Regions from separate parts of the Homo sapiens genome. Here region 1 is linked to region 2. Evidence: promoter capture Hi-C in human tissues and cell types (Jung and others, 2019). All regions are on one chromosome and are shown on one strand. Each heading gives the region's core, a stretch centred on a gene start or on the middle of the fragment in contact. The rest is flanking DNA. Distances are from core to core; before and after follow the strand shown.

The links. Contacts are between HindIII fragments. The study calls those that stand out against the background at their distance.
Region 1: a contact is called between a fragment that was not itself captured here and the fragment with the promoter of MSANTD3 in region 2, in 1 of the 25 tissues and cell types used here (pancreas).

The regions. Positions count from the first base shown.
Region 1 is chr9:100,569,832-100,575,165 of GRCh38, reverse strand. It overlaps MSANTD3-TMEFF1 (MSANTD3-TMEFF1 readthrough), which reads right to left. Exons shown (of 10, transcript NM_001198812.1): 9 at 2,490-2,648. It overlaps TMEFF1 (transmembrane protein with EGF like and two follistatin like domains 1), which reads right to left. Exons shown (of 10, transcript NM_003692.5): 9 at 2,490-2,648. Among named protein-coding and RNA genes, the nearest start is that of CAVIN4, 5.6 kb to the left of the region's middle. The HindIII fragment of the contact is 5,125 bases long and covers 1-4,616 here.
Region 2 is chr9:100,422,777-100,428,608 of GRCh38, reverse strand. It overlaps MSANTD3 (Myb/SANT DNA binding domain containing 3), which reads right to left and starts at 1,466. Exons shown (of 3, transcript NM_080655.3): 1 at 1,216-1,466. RefSeq lists silencers at 970-1,089, 1,130-1,359, 1,400-1,629. The HindIII fragment of the contact is 14,283 bases long and covers 1-4,522 here.

The sequences.
Region 1 (5,334 bases), core at 805-3,304, 150 kb before region 2:
CTGTGTGGGAGAGATACTTAAAAACTCAATGGAAATAAATCCAAGTACATAAATGTTCTAAATCCAAGATAGCAAGACATTCTAGGGGAGGAAATACCATAATAAAAAGACAGGCCTCCAGGAGAAATCTGTGATAAATTCAATGAGATGACTCTTCAATCGTAGAGACAGTGGGCAGTAAAGACACTGTGACATAGTTAGAAATACACTGTGATGTCTAAGTGGCTGTGAGGGCAACAAGGAGGGATCTGGAGTATAAACTAGAGGGTACCTACTTCAAAACTGCCTGCCAGGTAATTTTAATTGAGTAGTTGAGCATTATAGCACTGAAAGAGTTGGGTAAAAGACTGTTGTAAGGGGGCTTTCCTAGCTCTAGGACCTTAGACCAAGGTACTTCTTATCTCAGGGCTTCAGTTTCCCAACTTCTCTAAATGAAGGGGTTGAACTCAGAATTGTTTCTCATTGACTCTGACATCCTTTGATCCTCTTAAAAATGGCACTATCTGGCTGGGCACAATCCCAGCACTTTGCGAGACCGAGGCAGGTGGATCACTTGAGCCTAGGAGTTGAAGACCAGCCTCGGCAACATGGCCAAACCCAGTCTCTACAAAAAAAAAAATACAAAAATTAGCAAGGCATGGTGGCGCATGCCTGTAGTCTCAGCTACTCGGGAGGTTGAGATAAGCCCAGGAGGTGGAGGTTGCAATGATCCAAGATCATGCCACTGCACTCCAGCCTGAATGACAGAGTGAGACCCTGTCTCAAATAAAGGCACTATCTCCAGGCCTCAAACATCTCCCCTTACTTTACCTTAATTTTCCTTCTGCCTTCCAAATCATTCATTACCTCACTCCTATTTAACTCTAATAATGACTTAAATGGTCTTCCCCCTACCTCATATGTTCACTACTCCAATGAATTTTTCAGATGACTCATTAATACTCTGAAAAATATGGTTTATACCAAGTCCTTCCCCTGCTCAAAAACCCTAAACTGCTACAAAATCAAGTTTGAACCCTGCTCCCATGCAATGGTCATACTGGGCAAACATGTTTCCCAAGATGACTCAACATGGAACCTTTCAGTGTAAAGAATGAATGGGAATCAAACTGAATCCAAATCCAGACAATTCCACTTACTAGTCGGATGACCACAGACAAATTACTTAACCTCTGAGTCTATATTAAATGGCTACAGCCAGTCATGCTGTTAAATGTGTTTTCCCTATCTTCTCTTTCTGTTATCATTATTTGTTACATGATTATGTCCCTACTTTGATCTACCGTCCAATTTTATATTCAGTAGTCTTGCCTAAGGGCAGATCATCTGTTCTGTGAAATAAAGCGCACTGACTTTCATGCCTAGGTGTTATGAAAAATATCTGTTACTTGGAGAACCTTTTCTTTTTTATCATTTCTAGATTTATCATCTCAGCTCCAGATGGCTGAGACTACTGAAGGTCTGGCTTCTATCCAGACCTTGGATAGAAGGGCCACAAATCCATTATGGCCTGCCAATATCTGTATTTGATATGCTTCAACCCTCTGCCCAGAATAATGCAGGGAAGTGGAGAAATGATGCTTATGAGACTTCTGAACTGAAGCTTAAAGAAAGAGGTAAGCAGGAAGAAAAGCATTAGACTGGGAAGCACAAAGACAACACGAACTTGCTGGATTTACTCTGACTTTTCTCAGGCCCAGTTCAGTCTGACTTATGTATTTCTACTCAGTTTAGAAAAGACCCATTTTATGCCACTGCACTCCAAATAAGTCATTTAATTTATGACGAATAATTTTATTTATAATACAGAATTTTAAAGCTTATTACTTATCGCTGCAATCCTGAAAATGAAGTAATGTTAACACCATGATATCACAATAAAACTATCTTCAGCCTCTGATTTCTTCCTTTCTTACTATACTAACTGTGAGTAAAGTACGTTCTTAGGGCACAGAACCCCTTGCAGTTGTGCAGGGCTTAAAAATCTTCTGCATGGATCTCCTATGCATGTGCAGATCATTCTAGAAATTCTGAGCCAGTCAGGGTGGTTCACGCCTATAGTCTCAGCTACTCTGGAGGACCACTTGAGCCCAGGAATTTGAGGCTGCAATGAGCTCTAATTGCTACTGCACTCCAGCCTGGGCAACAGAGTGAGGCCCTGTCTCTTAAAAAAAAAAAAAAAAGATTGCTACTAACATTATTTTCCCAGAATACAGTGTTCAAAGACTGTATACAGTTCTCAGATCCCTAAATTCCTTTATCTCATTGACTATTCTCATTCCCTCTCTGCTTGTCGCCCAGATATACCTGTAAGACTGGGAATTAGTCCCTGCCCGTATCCTAAAGAAGAAGGATAGGGAGAGACCACTGAAAACCTCAGGGAACTGATCATAAGATTTTTCCTAATAGACTGGTGGCCTCAAAGCATCTATAAATAAACAGTTGCCTGCCTCTAATTTAAAGTTGATATTTCTTACATCATTACCTACCTTGTTATGCACATTACAATTGCTACTATGATGGCAATCTGTACAGCTCCAATAATTGCTGCAATAAGAACATGAGTGAGCTTTTGCCTACTTGGCACTACATAGAGAATACTAAAGTCTGTCTTTTCACAGTGCTGTCCAGTGTAGCCAGATTCACATCTGAAAAGGAAAAATATATATATTCCTATGAAAATTACAAATTTTGATACTCCCAAGCTTTTACATTAAAAAATACAAAATAGTAATAAAATTTAAACAGGAATAGGATATCATGCACTTTCCTACCATCTGGGGGAAAAATGTCATTTGTATGTTTCCCTACTGTCTTTCTGATATGCCTACATGGTGCGTCTTTCACCTAAGTTATATCACATTAATTTTAAAGTTGCTGAATATTGTTAATGTATATCTTTTTTTGTTATTGTTGCTTTTGCTTTTGGTGTCATATCTAAGAAATTATTGCCTAATCTAAAGCCACAAAGATTTACTCCTTTTTTTCACTTTTTAAATTAAATTTGCTTAAAAATTGACAAATAAAATTACGTATATTTATCATGTACAACAGGGATCCCCCCCAACTCCCGGGCCATGGACAGATATTGGTCCATGGCCTGTTAGGAACCAGGCCACACAGCAGGAGGTGAGTGGTGGGCAAGTAAGCAAAGCTTCTTTGTATTTACAGCTACTCCCCATCACTCACATTACCACCCAAGCTCCGCCTCCTGTCAGATCAGCACTGGCATTAGATTCTCATAGGAGCGCAAACCCTATTGTGAGCTGCGCACACAAGGGATCTAGGTTGAGTGCTCCTTATGTGAATCTAATGCCTAAGGATCTGTCACCGTCCCCCATCACCCCCAGATGGGACTGTCTAATTGCAGGAAAAACAAGCTCAGAGCTCCCACCAATTCTACATTATGGTGAGTTGTATAATTATTTCATTAAGTATTACCATGTAATAATAATAGAAATAAAGTGCACAATAAATGTAATGCACTTGAATCATCCCCAAACCATCACCCCCACCCCCAATCCCCAGTCCATGGAAAAACTGTCTTGTACGGAACTAGTCCCTGGCAACAAAAAGGTTGGGGACCACTGATGTACAACATGATATTTGGAAATGTATAGACATTGTGGAATGGCTAAATCAAGCTAATTAACATATGCATTACCTCATATAGTTATCATGTCTGTGGTGAGAACACTTAAAATCTACTCTCTTAGCATTTTTTTCAAAATAGATACATATAATTTCAAAACAGAAATATAATACTCCATCCAGTGACTATAATATAGCTAGCATTATCTATTCCCAGTTCTAAGACATGTCAGTTATTTTCAATTTTTCACAATTATAAATTAGATGTGGTAAACATCTTGGTGAATATGCGCTTTTCTATATTTAGTGTTATTCCTTAGGGCTAAGTACCTGAAAATTAAGACTATTGAAAAAATAGGTATAAACATTTACAGTCCTCTGAACATAGCACCAAATTATATTCAAGACACTTTTCAGTGTATAAAATATAAACATGTAAGATGCAAGGGGAAGATGAAAATAAGTTATTAATAACAGAAACAATGTCAAGCAGTCAAGGAGGTAAGCTGTAGGTGCTAATCTTGGAAATTATCTGAATTCCAATTAAAAGTAGATAAAAAGACAACTGCATCAGCTGATGATAATTTGACAGGGAGAAATATTTAAGACACTTAACAGACAATTTACATTTTTAAGCTGACAGCAGTGAAATGTATAAATTAGCCAGCCTTCAGTGAGAACTGATTAATAAAACATTTGAAGTATAAAAACAGTATTTATGAATGTCCCACAACTCATTAAGAAAAGAATTTGAGGCAGCTTATCGCAAAGCACACATTAAAACAACAAAAAAGAAATGTGGGAGGAGGGAAACAGGGAAATCCAGGGGTGCTGCAAGTCTACCAATCCAGTCCCTGAGGTTCCTAGACACTTCCCAGTACATTTCACATTGGGCTCTACGCTTTCCAGCAAACAAAAAAAAACAAGCAGTGGGCAGGTATGTGGATCATGGAAGAGAATGGAGAGCCTAGAAATAAACCCATACATCTATGGTCAATTGGTTTTGACAAGGGTGCTAAGATAACTCAATGGGGAAAGAACTGTTTCTTCAACAAATGGTGCTAACTGGATATCCACACACAAAAGGATGAAGCTAGACCTCTTCCTCGTGTCATACACAAAAATTGCCTCAAAATGGATCGCAGATCTAAACGTAAGAGCTAAAACTATAAAACTCTGAAGAAAAAAAACATAAGATACAGTTATTATGGAAAACCGTATGGAAGTTCCTCAAAAAATTAAAAATAAAACTACCATATGATCCAGCAATCTCATTACTGGGTATATAACTATAGGAAATAAAATCAGTATATTGAAGAAATATCTGCACTACCACGTTTATTGCAGCATTATTCACAATAGCTAAGATATGGATTTAATCTAAGTGTCCATTAACAAATAAATGGATAAAATAATGAGGTATATATACAAAATGGAATACTATTCAGCCATAAAAAAGAAGGAAATCCTATCATTTGCATGGATGAACCTCCAGAACATTATATTAAGTGAAATAAGCCAAGCATAGAAAGACATATACTGAGTGATCCCACTCATATGTGGAACCTAAAAAAGTTGATCTCATAGAAGTAGAGAGTAGAATAGTGGTTACCAGGGACTGGTGTGGTAGGAGGTGCTTTGAGGACATGTTGGTCAGGGGATACTAAATTTCAGTTAGATGGGAGGAATAGGTTCAAGAAATGTAGTGTACAACATGGTGACTATAGTTAACAATGCAGTGTA
Region 2 (5,832 bases), core at 217-2,716:
CCCCTGCCCCAGCAGCCTTTGTCCCCTAGCCCGGGTCTCTACGGGAGGGATGAAATCTGGCCCAGCAATGCTGCAGGGGAGGGATGGTGAACCCTGGTGCCTTCCTCTACATCTTCCTCCAGGACTTCAGAATCCTTCTTCTCCCCCTTGTCCATCCCATGTCTCTCTCTGGCCCTGGACTCCCACAGCCATCCTCAATCCTAACTCAGAAACTATGTTTTTTAATTAATATTCAGCAATTTCCTTGGAATACAATCATCTGCTCTGACATGCTGAAAGGCACACTCTCTGGCCCTGATATTATCCTACCTCCAGTTTTAAATGTATGACAAATATATCCCTGCATCCTATAACTACTCTCCTCGATACTGCAGGAACGTCTGTAATGTTAAATGTTATCACGCCTAAGAAATACCCAACCTCCTGAATCGGAATAGGGAGACTAAATTCTTCACTGTTTCGTACTCCTAAATAAAGATTATTCATGCAATTTACAGTAACTACCTCACAGCGCCAGGGTGATGATTCAATGATAATTCATGCCAACTGTTTAGTACCTAGGGCCTGGTACATACAGAGTGCTCAAAATTTAGCTGTTATCATTTACATACATTATCTTTCACAATAGTACCTGAGGGTAGATATTATACCACGCCCCCCCGACCCCCGCCTCTAATTTACAGAAACAGTAGCCCCGGCTCGGAGTAAAGGAGCTTTCCCAAGGTCAGTCAAGCAAGGATGTGATGCTCGGCCTTCATCCTGCAAGTGAGGGATCCCTCCCGTTACACTCTGGACGGGCGGGGCACTGGAGGTCTTAAAGGAGACAAGTATGGAAAAGCGCCGAGCACAGTGATCAGCACACAGTGGGGACGCCGGGATGGGAAGACCGCGGTACTGCAGGTCACCTGGATTCCCCCCGAGCAGCTCCCCGAGCCCGGGAGTCCAAAGCCCACCCCGCTCCCAGCCGTGGGCGCGCCACTGAGTACCCCAGAGGCCCGCGCCCCGGGGCTTTGTAGGCAGCAGGCCGGCCCTACTCACCGAGTCCCATCGCGGCGCGCAGAGGCGGCCGCCCGGCGCCCAGCCTGCAAGGCCGGGGTCGCAGCGGCTCGGCCCGAAAACCCTCCATGCCGGCCCCCGGCCCCCTCTACGCCCGGCCCGCGCCCCCCACCCCCGCCCCCGCCCGGCTGCGGCCCGCCCGGAAGGGGAGCCTCCTACCTGCAGCGGCGGCGCGGCAGCCGCGGCGACCGGGGGAGGGGCCGGCGAGGCGCGAGGGCGGGCGGCCTGGGCTCCTCTCGCAAGCAGGGCGGCCGGGAGGGCCGCGGGCTCCCGAACGCCGGGCGGCGGCGGCGGCGGCGGCGCGCCCCCGGCCGGCCAGGCCCCGCCGCGCGCGCCGCGGCCACAAAGCCCGGACGCCGCCGCCCCCTCGCGGACCGCCCGCCGCCTGCCGGTCCGTCGGCGCCGCCGAGGAGGGCGGGAGCGCGGCCCCGCGCCAGTCCCCACTTCCCCGAGCTGCGGCCGCCGGCCTCCAGGGGACTGGGGCGGGGCGCGGGGTGCCCCCCCGCCCACCTGCCCGTCCGCACCGACCCCGCTCCTGACATCCTCGGGCTGACGTCCTCGTGCTGATTTAGTTGCCTTTTTTCCCCACCTTTGCAGAGGAGCTCCTGAAGCGGCCCGAAAAACTGTTTTATTTCTATGAACAACAAAAGAATACATTTGTCACACGGGATTTGGCGGCCATGAACACGAGTTAGTTCAGTCCAGGTCCCCCGACTGAAATAGGCCCTTTTCTTTTAGGACTCCTTGATACTTGGGACAGCGAATCCCCCTATGCTGAGTTTATCAGAACTTCTGTTAATTTGTGGAACGTGCCTCCCCCAGGAGAGCGACTGTGCTCACTGGAGCCCAGGACCTGTCTCGGACACTGTGCTGACTCATTTGGAATTAATGCGTGTGTAAATGCATGCACAACAGCTCAAACTGTCGGGACAAGCCACCCTTTGCTCCTCCCGCAAACAGAGTGGCTGGATGTTTCTTTTGCCCTGGATCCATTGGGAAGACTCCAACCCCAGAGAAAGGCAGAGAAGGCTTTTTAACTTTTTTTTTTTTTGAGGTGAAATTCGCATAACATAAACCACTTAAAAGCGAACGATTTGGTGGCATTTATTACATTCATAATGTTGAGCAACCACTTCTATCTAGTTCTGAAACATCCATACTCCATTAAGCAGTAATTCCCCAGTCCCTCCTTCCTCCAGACCCTGGCAACGACTCAGCTATTTTCTATCTCTGTGAGTTTACTTTTTTCTGGGTATTTCATATAAATGCAACCATACAATATGCGGCCTTTTGTGTCGTTTCTTTGACTTAGCCTGTATTTAAGATTCATCCATGTTGAGGCGTGGATCAGTACTTCATTCCTTTTTATGGCTGATTAATATCCCATTGTATGTGTATATTATAATTTGTTTATTCATTCATCCCTTGATAGATATTTGGGTTACTTCCACCTTTTGGCTATTGTGAATAGTGCTGCTCTGAACATGCCTGTACACATATTTGAGTACCTGTTCCCAGTTCTTTTGGATACATACCTAGGAGTGGACTTTCTGGGTCATAGGGTAATTCTATGTTTAACTTTTCCAGGAACTGCCAAAAAGTTTTCCACAGCAGCTGAATGAATCATTTTACATTCCCATCACCAATGTTTGAGGGTTCCAAGTTTCCACAACCTTGTCAACACTTGCAATTTTCCGTTTTTGTGTTTTAATTCCTTGAACATTTTTGAGACTATTGCTTGCCCTCCCAACTCCCACTATCCATAGCCCTAAAGTAAAAACTGATCTAGGTTTTCACTATGTACAAAGAATCACGCAACCCTTTCTTTCTTCCCTCAAAAAACAATCCAGGGCAGAAGCACCAATAAAAATAAAGACCCTAAACTAAGAGCTATACTGGTCCTCATTCTTTTTCTTTTCTTTTTTTTTTTTTTTTTTTGAGACAGAGTCTGCTGGAGTGCAATGGTGCAATCTTGGCTCACTGCAACCTCCGCTTCCCGGGTTCAAGCAATTCTCCTGCCTCAGCCTCCCAAGTAGCTGGGACTATAGGCATGTGCCACCACTCCTGGATAATTTTTGTAATTTTAGTAGAGACAGGATTTCGCCATGTTGGCCAGGCTGGTCTCGAACTCCTGACCTCAAGTGATCTGCCCACCTCAGTCTCCCAAAGTGCTGGGATTACAGGCATCTCATTCATTATTTTAACAATAATTTGTCTGATGTCCAGGAGGCCTTGAAATTGTCCAGAGAGCCTGGAAACTAAAATTATACCAGGGGAGTTGCTACAATGTGCTAGCAAACAAGCTATGATACCACACCGAAAGCCAAGGCTGTACATCATTTACACTTGTTTTCCACTTAGTGCCATATTATAAGTCCATGAAGATTCCCTTCTTACATGCAGATACGGTCAAGGGAAAACTATTGGGGTGTGACATTGGAAGGTCAATTCAGATTGGAAATTTGATTGATAAAGTGATACAGTGTGGAAAAAGCACTAGATAAACGTGAACTAAGTTAAGCTCCTGAATCTCAGTTTTCTCATTTCATTTTTTTTTTTTTTTTTGAGACGGAGTCTCGCTTTGTCACCCAGGCTGGAGTGCAGTGGTGGCGCAATCTCGGCTCACTGCAAGCTCCACCTCCCGGGTTCACGCCATTCTCCTGCCTCAGCCTCCCGAGTAGCTGGGACTACAGGCGCCTGCCACCACGCCTGGCTAATTTTTTTTGTATTTTTAGTAGAGACGGGGTTTCACCATGTTAGCCAGTATGGTCTCGATCTCCTGACCTCGTGATCCGCCCGCCTCTGCCTCCCAAAGTGCTGGGATTACAGGCATGAGCCACCATGCCCGGCCAGTTTTCTCATTTCTAAGATGGGAATATGATGCCTACCTGGCTGGGTAGATAAAAGCTTCTAGTCTTAACTTCAGCAAATGATCAGTGTTATTTTATTGATTTAAATAATGAAGATTGTGGCTCATGCCTGTAATCCCAGCACTTTGGGAGGCTGGAGCATGTGGATCGCTTGAGCCCAGGAGTTCAAGACCAGCCTGGGCAACGTGGCAAAACCCCATCTCTACCAAAAATACAAAAATTAGCCAGTCTCATAACCTGGTCTCAAAATAAATAAACAGATAAAATTTTAAAAATAAAAAAATTAATGCTGTAATAAATAAATAAATAATGGTGATTGACATGAGCCACATGTAGGTGTACTGCTAAGGAGACATGGGAAACTCAAATTTAGTCATGTGTCTCTCCTCAAACAAAGAGAGCAGACTATCTTAAAAACTAATGGGGCAGGGTAACTACTCAGGCCTGCAATATGGTGGCTGCCTTCCCAGCTCTCTCCTTGATCCCTGACTTAGTTCTGCATGCTACCTTGGACAACTGACTTCTTTTTCTTTTTTTTTTTTTTTTTTTTACTTTGGATCACTTACATCAAATTAAATAGGTTTCTTGAAAACACAGAGAAAACACTCAATAAATGTGAGCTATTTTATCAATAATAAAGCTATTACAGTTTCTTTGTAGAAAGTGTTAACAGAAGGGCAGCGTCTACACAGAGTCTAGGAAAAGAAAACCATAAAGAACTCATCCATGTGACTTGTCCCTTTTTCAAATGCTGGAGGGTCCCTTCAGGAGATCCATTCCTGTGATGGAGATGAGTGATGCATTGCGCTCCACAGGTTGCTGAGAATAGCTATACATATTGTATCTTTTTTGCTAGGATCCAGGCTCACCAAGCAGTCTTGATATAGTAGTTGATTTCAACGACATCTTTTTTTTTTTTCCTTTTTTATTCCTTTTAGAGACAGGGTCTTGCTCTGTCACCCAGGCCAGAGTGCAGGTTATGATCATAGCTCACTGCAGCCTCAAATTCCTGGGCTCAAGCGATCCTCCCACCTCAGCCTCCCTAGTAGCTGACACTACAGGAGCATACCACCATGCCCAACTCATTTTTTAAATTTTTATTTTTGTAGAAAGGGGGTTTTTCTTTGTTGTCCAGGCTGGTCTTGAACTTCTAAGCTTCAAGCAATCCTCCTACCTCAGGCTTTCAAAGTGCTGAAATTACAGGCATGAGCCACTGCACCCAGCCTGGTTTCAACAAAATTTTCTTTTCTTTTCTTTCTTTTTTTTTTTTTCTCGAGACGGATCTTGCTCTGTCGCCCAGGCTGGAGTGCAGTGGCATGATCTCAGCTCACTGCAACCTCCGCCTCCTGGTTTCAAGCGATTCTCCTGCCTCAGCCTCCAGAGTAGCTGGGATTATAGGCGCACGCCACCACACCCAGCTAATTTTTTGTATTTTTAGTACAGACGGGGTTTCACCATGTTGGCCAGGCTGGTCTCAAACTCCTGACCTCATGATCCACCCGCCTCGGCTTCCCAAAGTGCTGGGATTACAGCCGTGAGCCAATGCATCTGGCAGGACAAAATTTTCTTAAATGAGGGAAAATGCCCTGAACATCCAACTCTCAACACTCTAGAATTCTGCGATGAAAGTACAGCTGTCTTTGAAAATTAATCAATTGGTGTTTAGCTTATCCATCTGTCTGTTATGATTTTAACTGGCAAATCCAGTCTCCCCAAAGTCTAATTATATATGGATATTAGAGGCTCTTTTCATCTCAGGCTCTTTTGGTGGCAAGGAACAGAGACTCATCCAAACTTGCTACAGGAGAAGGCTGTTTATTGAATCTTAGGTGTTGAAAGATAGGAACCCAAATTGAGAAGGACTTCAAGGAACTTAAAAGCCACTGGGGGCCTCGTGCAGTGGCTC